Regions from separate parts of the Homo sapiens genome. Here region 2 is linked to region 1. The links are contacts of gene promoters, found by promoter capture Hi-C in human tissues and cell types (Jung and others, 2019). All regions are on one chromosome and are shown on one strand. Each heading gives the region's core, a stretch centred on a gene start or on the middle of the fragment in contact. The rest is flanking DNA. Distances are from core to core; before and after follow the strand shown. Region 1 holds the start of COX19 (cytochrome c oxidase assembly factor COX19). Region 2 has its middle 22 kb from the start of ZFAND2A-DT.

Region 1 (4,143 bases), core at 1,270-3,769:
CTCCATTTCAAGGGCAAACAATTCCACAGTCCTGAAAAACACAAGCTGAATCCCAGGCCTGAAAAAGACACACTGTAATGGCCTTTCAGGAAAAAAAAAGTTTTAATTGGAGTAGTGGGAGGTGGAAATCATAACGCTTAGCTGTACTCACCTCTCCATCCTGCATTCTAAATATTCTTTTGATTCCTTTCTGCACAAAGCATTTTCAAAATTATTGTTATGAAGACACTTCATGAATTTCTCTTTAAAGCTTTTACATTCACCTAGAACGAGAAAGAAAACAGCATGTTCTTTTCAGAGTGAAAAGTGATGCAACCACACAACAGCCTTAAGAGCTGCGCTGCTTTTCCTTTCAAAACTTGTTTCCTCAGGCCGGGCGCAGTGGTTCACACCTGTAATCCCAGCACTCTGAGAGGATCACCTGACCCCAGGAGTTTGAGACCAGCCTGGGCAACACAGTGAGACCCCCATCTCTACCAAAAAAAACCTTAAAAGTTAGCTAGGTGTGGCGCACGTCTGTGGTTCCAGCTACTCAGGAGGCTGAGGCAGGAAGATCGCTTGAGCAAAGGATTTCGAGGCTGCAGTGAGCTTGATCACACCACTGCACTCCAGCCTGGGCAACAGATCAAGACCTTGTCTCCTAAAAATAATCCAGGCTGGGCACGGTGGCTCACGCCTGTAATCCTAGCACTTTGGGAGGCAGAGGTGGGCGGATCACCTGAGGTCAGGAGTTCAAGACCAGCTCGGCCAACTTGGTGAAACCCCATCTCTATTAAAAATACAAAAATTAGCCGGGCATGGTGGCGGGTGTCTGTAGTCCCAGCTACTCGGGAGGCTGAGGCAGGAGAATTGCTTGAACCCAGGAAGCGGAGGTTGCAGCGAGTCGAGATCACACCACTGCACTCCAGCCTGGGTGACAGAGTGAGACTCCATTTCAAAAATAAATAAATAAATGATCCAGCCTGGTCAACATGGGGAAACTCCATCTTTAAAATAAAAAATAAAAAAACAATAATAATTAGCTGGGTGTGGTGTTGCACACCTATAGTCCCAGCTACTCTAGAGGCTGAGACAGGAGAATCGCTTGAACCCGGGAGGAGGAGGTTGCAGTGAGTCGAGATCACACCACTGCACTCCAGCCTGGGCGACACAGTGAGAGTCCATTTCAAAAATAAATAAATAAATAATCCAGCCTGGGCAACATGGGGAAACCCCATCTCTAAAAAAAAAAAAAAAAAAAAAATTAGCTGGGTGTGGCGCTGCACACCTATAGTCCCAGCTACTCTAGAGGATGAGACGGGAGACTCCCCTGAGTCCAGAAAGGAAGGAGGCCGAGGCTTCAGTGAGCTATGATTGCACCACTGCACTCCAGCCTAAGCAACAGAGTGAGACCGTGTCTCAAAACAAAAACAATCAAACCCAAACTTGTTTCCTTCATAAACATGCTGAAAACAACAATGGAAAAAACCCACAACGAGGTAAAGTCAGCCCAGTACGAGGTTAAGGTGCAATGTAGGTGATGGTCACAGGAGAGTTCAGGGTAAAAATTCTTTCATTTTTGCTATTTGAAAATGTCACAATAAAATGTTGGGAAAGAAACAGTAATTCACAGATCGTTTTTCTTTTCTTTTCTTTCTTTTTTTTTTTGAGACGTTGTCTCACTCTGTCGCCCAAGCTGCAGTGCAGTGGCCCGATCTCGGCTCACTGCAACCTCCGTCTCCCGGTTCAAGCGATTCTCCTGCCTCAGCCTCCCGAGTAGCTGGGACTACAGGCGAGCCACATCACACCCAACTAATTTTTGTATTTTTAGTAGAGACGGGGTTTCCCCATGTTGGGCAGGCTGGTCTCGAACTCCTGATCTTAAATGATCCGCCCACCTCGGCCTCCCAAAGGGCTGGGATCACAGGCATGAGCCACCGCGCCCGGCCCACAGATCCTTTTTCGAAGCCTTCATGTCCACGGAGGCAACCCCACCGGAATACGGCCAGAAGCACTGGGAGATCAGCAGCACTTTTGAGCTTTGCAGCAGACATCGCTAGGCACCGTCTAAGCCTCGGCTGCAGCTGCGGGCTTCGTGGCCGCCGAATGCCCCGCTCTGCAAACCCGGGGCACAGACAGCCCGCCGGGTGAGTCAGGGCGGAGCCGGAGACCCGGAAGCCTGACGCAAGGAGTCGGTGTCGCTGCCCTCGTCACGGGGGCCACGGTCCTGCCAGCTCCCACCTGCAGGGTCCATGCCGCAGCAGTGACCCAGGGCTGGGTGGGGCGGAGGGGCGGGCCGCCGTGCCTCAGTTTCCCCGCCTGCACCGCGCTAGATGCCGGCACCCCATAGGGCTCCGCGCTGGGCCGCGACCCAGACCCCCCATCGCAGACCCCTGCCCGCCGACCTTCCGCCGCTCACCTAAGTGATCCAGCGGGAAGCTGCCCTTGTCCGGGGGCCGCGGCTGGAAGCTCTTGGTCCCGAAATTCATGGCGGTCGACATGTTGGCGACTCCGGAGTCTGCGAGCGCCTTGCGAGCGTACGCAGGGCGGCCGGCGGAGCGCCGAGCAGGCACCCCGGGAGCGCCGAGCACGTCGAGCAGGCCCCGTCCCCGCCCCTTGCCCAGGCCCGGCCCCACCCCTTGCCCAGGCCCGGCCCCACCCCCTCGGAGTCAGCAAGCTCCTGAGCCCCGGTGGGCGCTGCCCGGGCTTTCCCGTCCCCTGGGACCCTCACAGCAGTCGGTAGCAGAATCAGCTTTTGGAATTGGTGAGAAACCGAGGCCCAGAAAGGTTCAGCGAATTGCCCGAGGACACATAGCGGTGCCGGCGTCTCTGCATCCCAGGTGTCTGCTGGGGCCTCGGTTTCCCCATCGCACAGAGACCTCATCACGGGGCCCATCCGGGGAGGAAGGCGGCACAGGAGGGACAGGAGAGCCTGTGGACTCGCTGCCTGCGGCTGCTGGAGCCAGGTGACACCACCGAGCAGCTTCAACAACAGGAATGTGCTCTCAGTCCTGGGGTCTGGAGTCCAAGCAGTGGGCAGAGTGGGGGCCCTGGGGACAGTCCCAGCCTCCCAGCTTCTGGGGGCCGCCAGCCTGTGAGGTTCCTTGGCTTGCAGAAGCACCACCTGGTCTCGGCCCCTACGTTCCCATGGTGTCCTGCGCATGTCCAAATTTACTATTTTTATTTATTTATTTGAGACAGGGTATTGCTCTGTTGCCCAGACTAGAGTGCAGTGGCATGATCACGACTCACTGCAGCCTCGACCTCCTGGGCTCAGCGATCCTCTCACCCCAGCCTCCTGAGTAGCTGCGACCACAGGCACACACCACCACACCAGGCTAATTTTTCTATTTTTCGTAGAGATGGAGTCTCCCTATGTTGCCCAGGCTGGTCCTTAACTCCTGGGCTCAGGCAATCCTCCTGCCTCAGCCTCCCTAAATGCCGGGATTATAGGCATGAGCCACCATGCCCAACCTAAATTTCCTCTTTTTATAAGGATAGCAGTCATGTTGGGTTAGGGGCCGTCCCAATAACTTCATCTTAACTAATTATATCAGCAGCAACCCTATTTCTTTGTTTTGTTTTTTAAAACGGAGTCTCTCTCTTGTTGCCCAGGCTGGAGTACAGTGGCTCGATCCTGGCTCATTGCAACCTCCACCTCCCAGGTTAAAGCAATTCTCCTGCCTCAGCCTCCCGAGTAGCTGGGATTACAGGCGCCACCAACACACCCAGCTAAGCTAATATATTTTTTTTCAACACAGAGTCTCACTTTGTAACCTAGACGGGCGTGCAGTGGTACGATCTCGGCTCACCGCAACCTCCACTTCCCGAGTTCAAGAGATTCTCCTGCCTCAGCCTCCAGAGTAGCTGGGATTACAGGCATGCGCCACCACACCCGGCTAATTTTTTGTACTTTTCGTAGAGACGGGGTTTCACCATGTTGCCCAGGCTGGTCTCGAACTCCTGACCTTAAGTGATCCGCCCACTTCAGCCTCCCAAAGGGCTGGGATGACAGGCGTGAGCCGCCGCACCTGGCACCTATTTCCAAAGCAAAGGTCACATCCTAAGGTCCTAGTGGCTTCACCATACGAATGGGGGTGGAGGGTAGTTACAGCTCAACCTAGGGCAGAATGAAAGTGTACTGTAAGCGGTAAGGCCCGGCCT
Region 2 (3,905 bases), core at 772-3,271, 210 kb after region 1:
GTCCACCCGGGCCGCCTCACGGTTGGGAGGCCTTTTAAGCCAACCTCAAAATCTGGAGGCCTGTCTCACCGTGCAGGGTGCTGATAATGGAGAATTTAAAATTTAATCTATATGTTAAGATACTGTTGGTTTCTTGCCTAACGAGAGAGTGAGACGGGGAGAGAACACTCCGAGTTACCTGAAGGGCTTTCTGTGGCTAAGCTGGTCTCCGGACCCCCGCGAGCCAGAATCCCTTCCTGCCTGGTGCTCTAGCCAGAGGCGGTCATATTGTCAACAATCACATTTTCAGGAAAAGATTTGAATTCCTTAATCAAGCAAGGACAAAGGCTAAGAGACGAACGGTCAATATTAATAGAAGCAAGGATTAGAAATTAGTTGGTGGCTTAACTGATATTTTTAGAATCCACTAGAAAGGGATAAGGAATCTAAAAACAGGAGCGTGGTAAATGCTACATAATTCAGCACCGGATCACGGTTAGCTTAATGTCCTTTGTAAAGAAACGATTACAAATTATGTGGGAGGACTTAGCTGTAAAACTGCTGGAAAAGCAGAATTTGATCAGAGACAGGCAGCCTAGATTTATGAGAAGAAACAGGCCCGTGCGTCGCGTTGGAGATTTTAAAAGATATTATATTTATGACAGACAATGAGGGTGCTTTGTGTGGCCTACATCTGTGAAGAATTTGCTAATACCGGACTTAGAGATTTATTCTGAAGGTAAGTAGTGGGAACAGAGGTAAGAAGAAATCCCGCACCTCCAAAGCCCCACGTCTCCTTCAGGCAGGTGCCCTTTGAACGACACTGGAGGCAAAGCGAGAACGGTCCGTGGGTCGTCTCCCGTGCCGTCCACTCAGCCCAGCACGGCGGGGGGCCTGGTCACGGATTCCTATGCGTGTGAGTGGTGGATTAATCTCGTTTCACCAACACCTGGTCACACAGGAAGCCGGGGCAGTGAGGAACGGCTCCGACATGATGTCGAAATGACCCTCCTCACCCTTTCTTTTCAGTGGAGACAGCAGGGATTTCTGTGTCTTGTAGAGTCCTTGAGGAAGCCGTAGGCCACGGAAGTGTCTGGTCTCAGGCGGTCCTTTGAGAGGCAGCTGGTGAACGTCCCCCAAGGAGACAGAGCCTCTGGGGACAACAGGGGCTTTCATCTGGGAGCAGTGAGGACCCCCGAGGGGGCGTGGCAGGGAGGGGGCAGGACTGCTCAACTGGGCGGCTCCACGGGGCTGTGGGGCCTGGAGGCAGGCAGGCAGGTAGGGCAGGGCCCGAAGGAAAGCGGTATGGGGGCCCGAGGCTTACAGAGCCAGTGCTCAGCGGTTCCCGGAGCAACTCAGGGCCCAGCAGGCGGAACTGAAGGGAGCCACGATCAGGAAGAGGCAGGAACGTCCCCTCCCACCACCCCATCAGGCCTCAAACTGGGAGTCCCCGCTAGAGCAAAAAGACCGGAAAAGGAAATCACCAGTATACAGATTGGGAAGGAAGAAATAAAACTTCTTTGTTCACAAATGACGTGATTGCAGAAAATCCTACAGAATCCAAAAAGGAAAAGAAAAGAAAAACACAATTTTTGGAACTCATGAGCAAATGTAGGGTACAAGGTTATGAAACAAAAGTCAGTTGCTTTCCTATACATCGGTGACACACAGCATTTGAAATTAAAGACAGGCCGGGTGCGGTGGCTCATGCCTGTAATCCCAGCACTTTGGGAAGCCGAGGCAGGTGGATCACCTGAGGTCAGGAATTCAAGACTGGGCTGGGCAACATGGTGAAACCCCGTCTCTACTAAAAATACAAAAATTAGCCAGGTGTGGTAGTGCGTACCTGCAGTCTCAGCTACTCGGGAGGCTGAGGCAGGAGAATCACTTGAAACCGGGAGGGGCAAAGTGGGCAAGGGATATGAAGAGACATTTTTCAAAAGAAGGCAAACAAATGGCCAAAAGGTATATGAATGATGCTCAGCATCACTAATCATCAGAGAAACTCAAATTGAAACCACAAGGCCAGGTGTGGTGGCTCATGCCTGTAATCCCAGCACTTTGGGAGGCTGAGGCGGGTGGATCACCTGAGGCCAGGAGTTCGAGACCAGCCTGGGCAACATGGTGACGCCCCATCTCTACTAAAAATACAAAAATTAGCCAGGCATGGTGGCGGGCGCCTGTAATCCCAGCTACTTGGGAGGCTGAGGCAGGAGAATTGCTTGAACCCAGGAGGCGGAGGTTGCAGTGAGCCAAGATCATGCCATTGCACTTCAGCCTGGGAGACAAGAGCAAAACTCTATCTCAAAAACAAACAAACAAACAAACAAACAAACACTCTCTAAAAAATAAATTAAATAAATGAATAAGTATTTTCTGAATGAGTGAATGCATTTGGCTAAAAACAGAAGCCATGCTCGGAATATTTGGAGGGTTCAGAGTTTGAGACCTGTCTCCTATTGAGCCTGGGCAAGTTTGCTTAGGGCAGGAAATGAACCCCTTTCCTACTTGCATGGGGAACACAATGGTAAGACCGGGCTTGGAGGGAGGGTGGCGTCCATTTAGCTCTGCACACCGTCCCTTACCCCGCTCAGCGTAGACATCACCTCTGCTGCGAACTCCCCCAGACTCAGGGAGCCCTGGAACCACAGCACTCAGCACCCGGATGCGCTGCTCTTGCAGACACAGACCCGTGGCTACTGCCGATGCGCAGCCTTCTGGATAAATCCTATGCACTGGATGACTTGCTCTCCAGGAGCCATGATTTGCTCCTGGGAAACTGGGGAACGAGATCCAATTCTCCTTCGGTCAACACGCTGCCACCAAGTGGTAAGAGGCAGGAAAGACACCTGTTCTAGCAGCCGACCCGGTCCTGGAGGGATGAGAACCTCCTTTACAAAGCTTTACTTTCTTTTCTTTTCTGTTTTGAGACAGGGTCTCACTCTGTCACCCAGGCTGGAGTGCAGTGATACACTGTCAGCTCACTGCAGCCTCCACCTCCTGGGCTCAACTGATCCTCCTGACTCAGCCTCCCCCATAGCTGGGACCACAGACACACACCACCACACCTGGCAAAGTTTTTCTTTTGTATTTTTTTGTAGAGACAGGGTCTCTCTATGTTGCTCAGGGTGATCTCAAACTCCTGGGCTCAAGCGATCCTCCCACCTCAGCCTCCCAAAGTGCTGGGATTAGAGGCTTGAGCCACTGCTCCCCACTGAAGGTTTTCCATTGTGATTTGCTCCTGGGAAACTGGGGAAAAAGATCCAATTCTCCTTTGGTCAACACGCTGCCACCAAGTGGCAAGAGGCAGGCAAGACACCTGTTCCAGCAGTGGACGCCGCCCTGGAGGGATGAGAACCTGAGTCCAGCTCAGCTGGGCCCATGGGAGGCACAAGGACTTTACCTCCGTTCAGGGTGTGGAGTGCCTGCCTTTCCTGGCGATATTGCAAAGCCCAGAGTCAGGCTTTTTTTTTTTTTTTTTTTGAGACAGAGTCTCACTCTGTCGCCCAGGCTGGAGTGCAGTAGCACGATCTCGGCTCACTGCAACCTCCGCCTCCCAGGTTCAAATGACTCTCCTGCCTCAGCCTCCCGAGTAGCTGGGATTACAGGTGCCCGCCACCACGCCCGGCTAATTTAGTATTTTTAGTAGAGACAGGGTTTTGCCATGTTGGCCAGGCTGGTCTCGAACTCCTGGGCTCAATTGATCCTCCTGCCTCGGCCTCCCTAAGTGTTGGAATTGCAGGTGTGAGCCACCACACCTGGCATCATTCCTTTTTTTTCAGACGGAGTCTCGCTCTGTCACCCAGGCTGGAGTGCAGTGGCACGACCTCGGCTCACTGCAAGCTCTGCCTCCCAGGTTCACACCATTCTCCTGCCTCAGCCTCCCAAGTAGCTGGGACTACAGGCACCCACAACCACGCCCAGCT

The links. Contacts are between HindIII fragments. The study calls those that stand out against the background at their distance.
Region 2: a fragment that was not itself captured here is called in contact with the fragment with the promoter of COX19 in region 1 in 3 of the 25 tissues and cell types used here (IMR-90 fibroblasts, hippocampus and lymphoblastoid cells).

The regions. Positions count from the first base shown.
Region 1 is chr7:973,030-977,172 of GRCh38, forward strand. COX19 (cytochrome c oxidase assembly factor COX19) reads right to left here and starts at 2,520. Exons shown (of 3, transcript NM_001031617.3): 1 at 2,399-2,520; 2 at 152-263. The coding sequence starts at 2,480. RefSeq lists enhancers at 1,743-2,625, 1,925-1,994, 2,626-3,506 and silencers at 2,235-2,394, 2,415-2,694. The HindIII fragment of the contact is 7,753 bases long and covers 1-4,143 here.
Region 2 is chr7:1,180,381-1,184,285 of GRCh38, forward strand. No RefSeq gene overlaps it. Among named protein-coding and RNA genes, the nearest start is that of ZFAND2A-DT, 22 kb to the left of the region's middle. RefSeq lists an enhancer at 415-1,614. The HindIII fragment of the contact is 4,268 bases long and covers 1-3,905 here.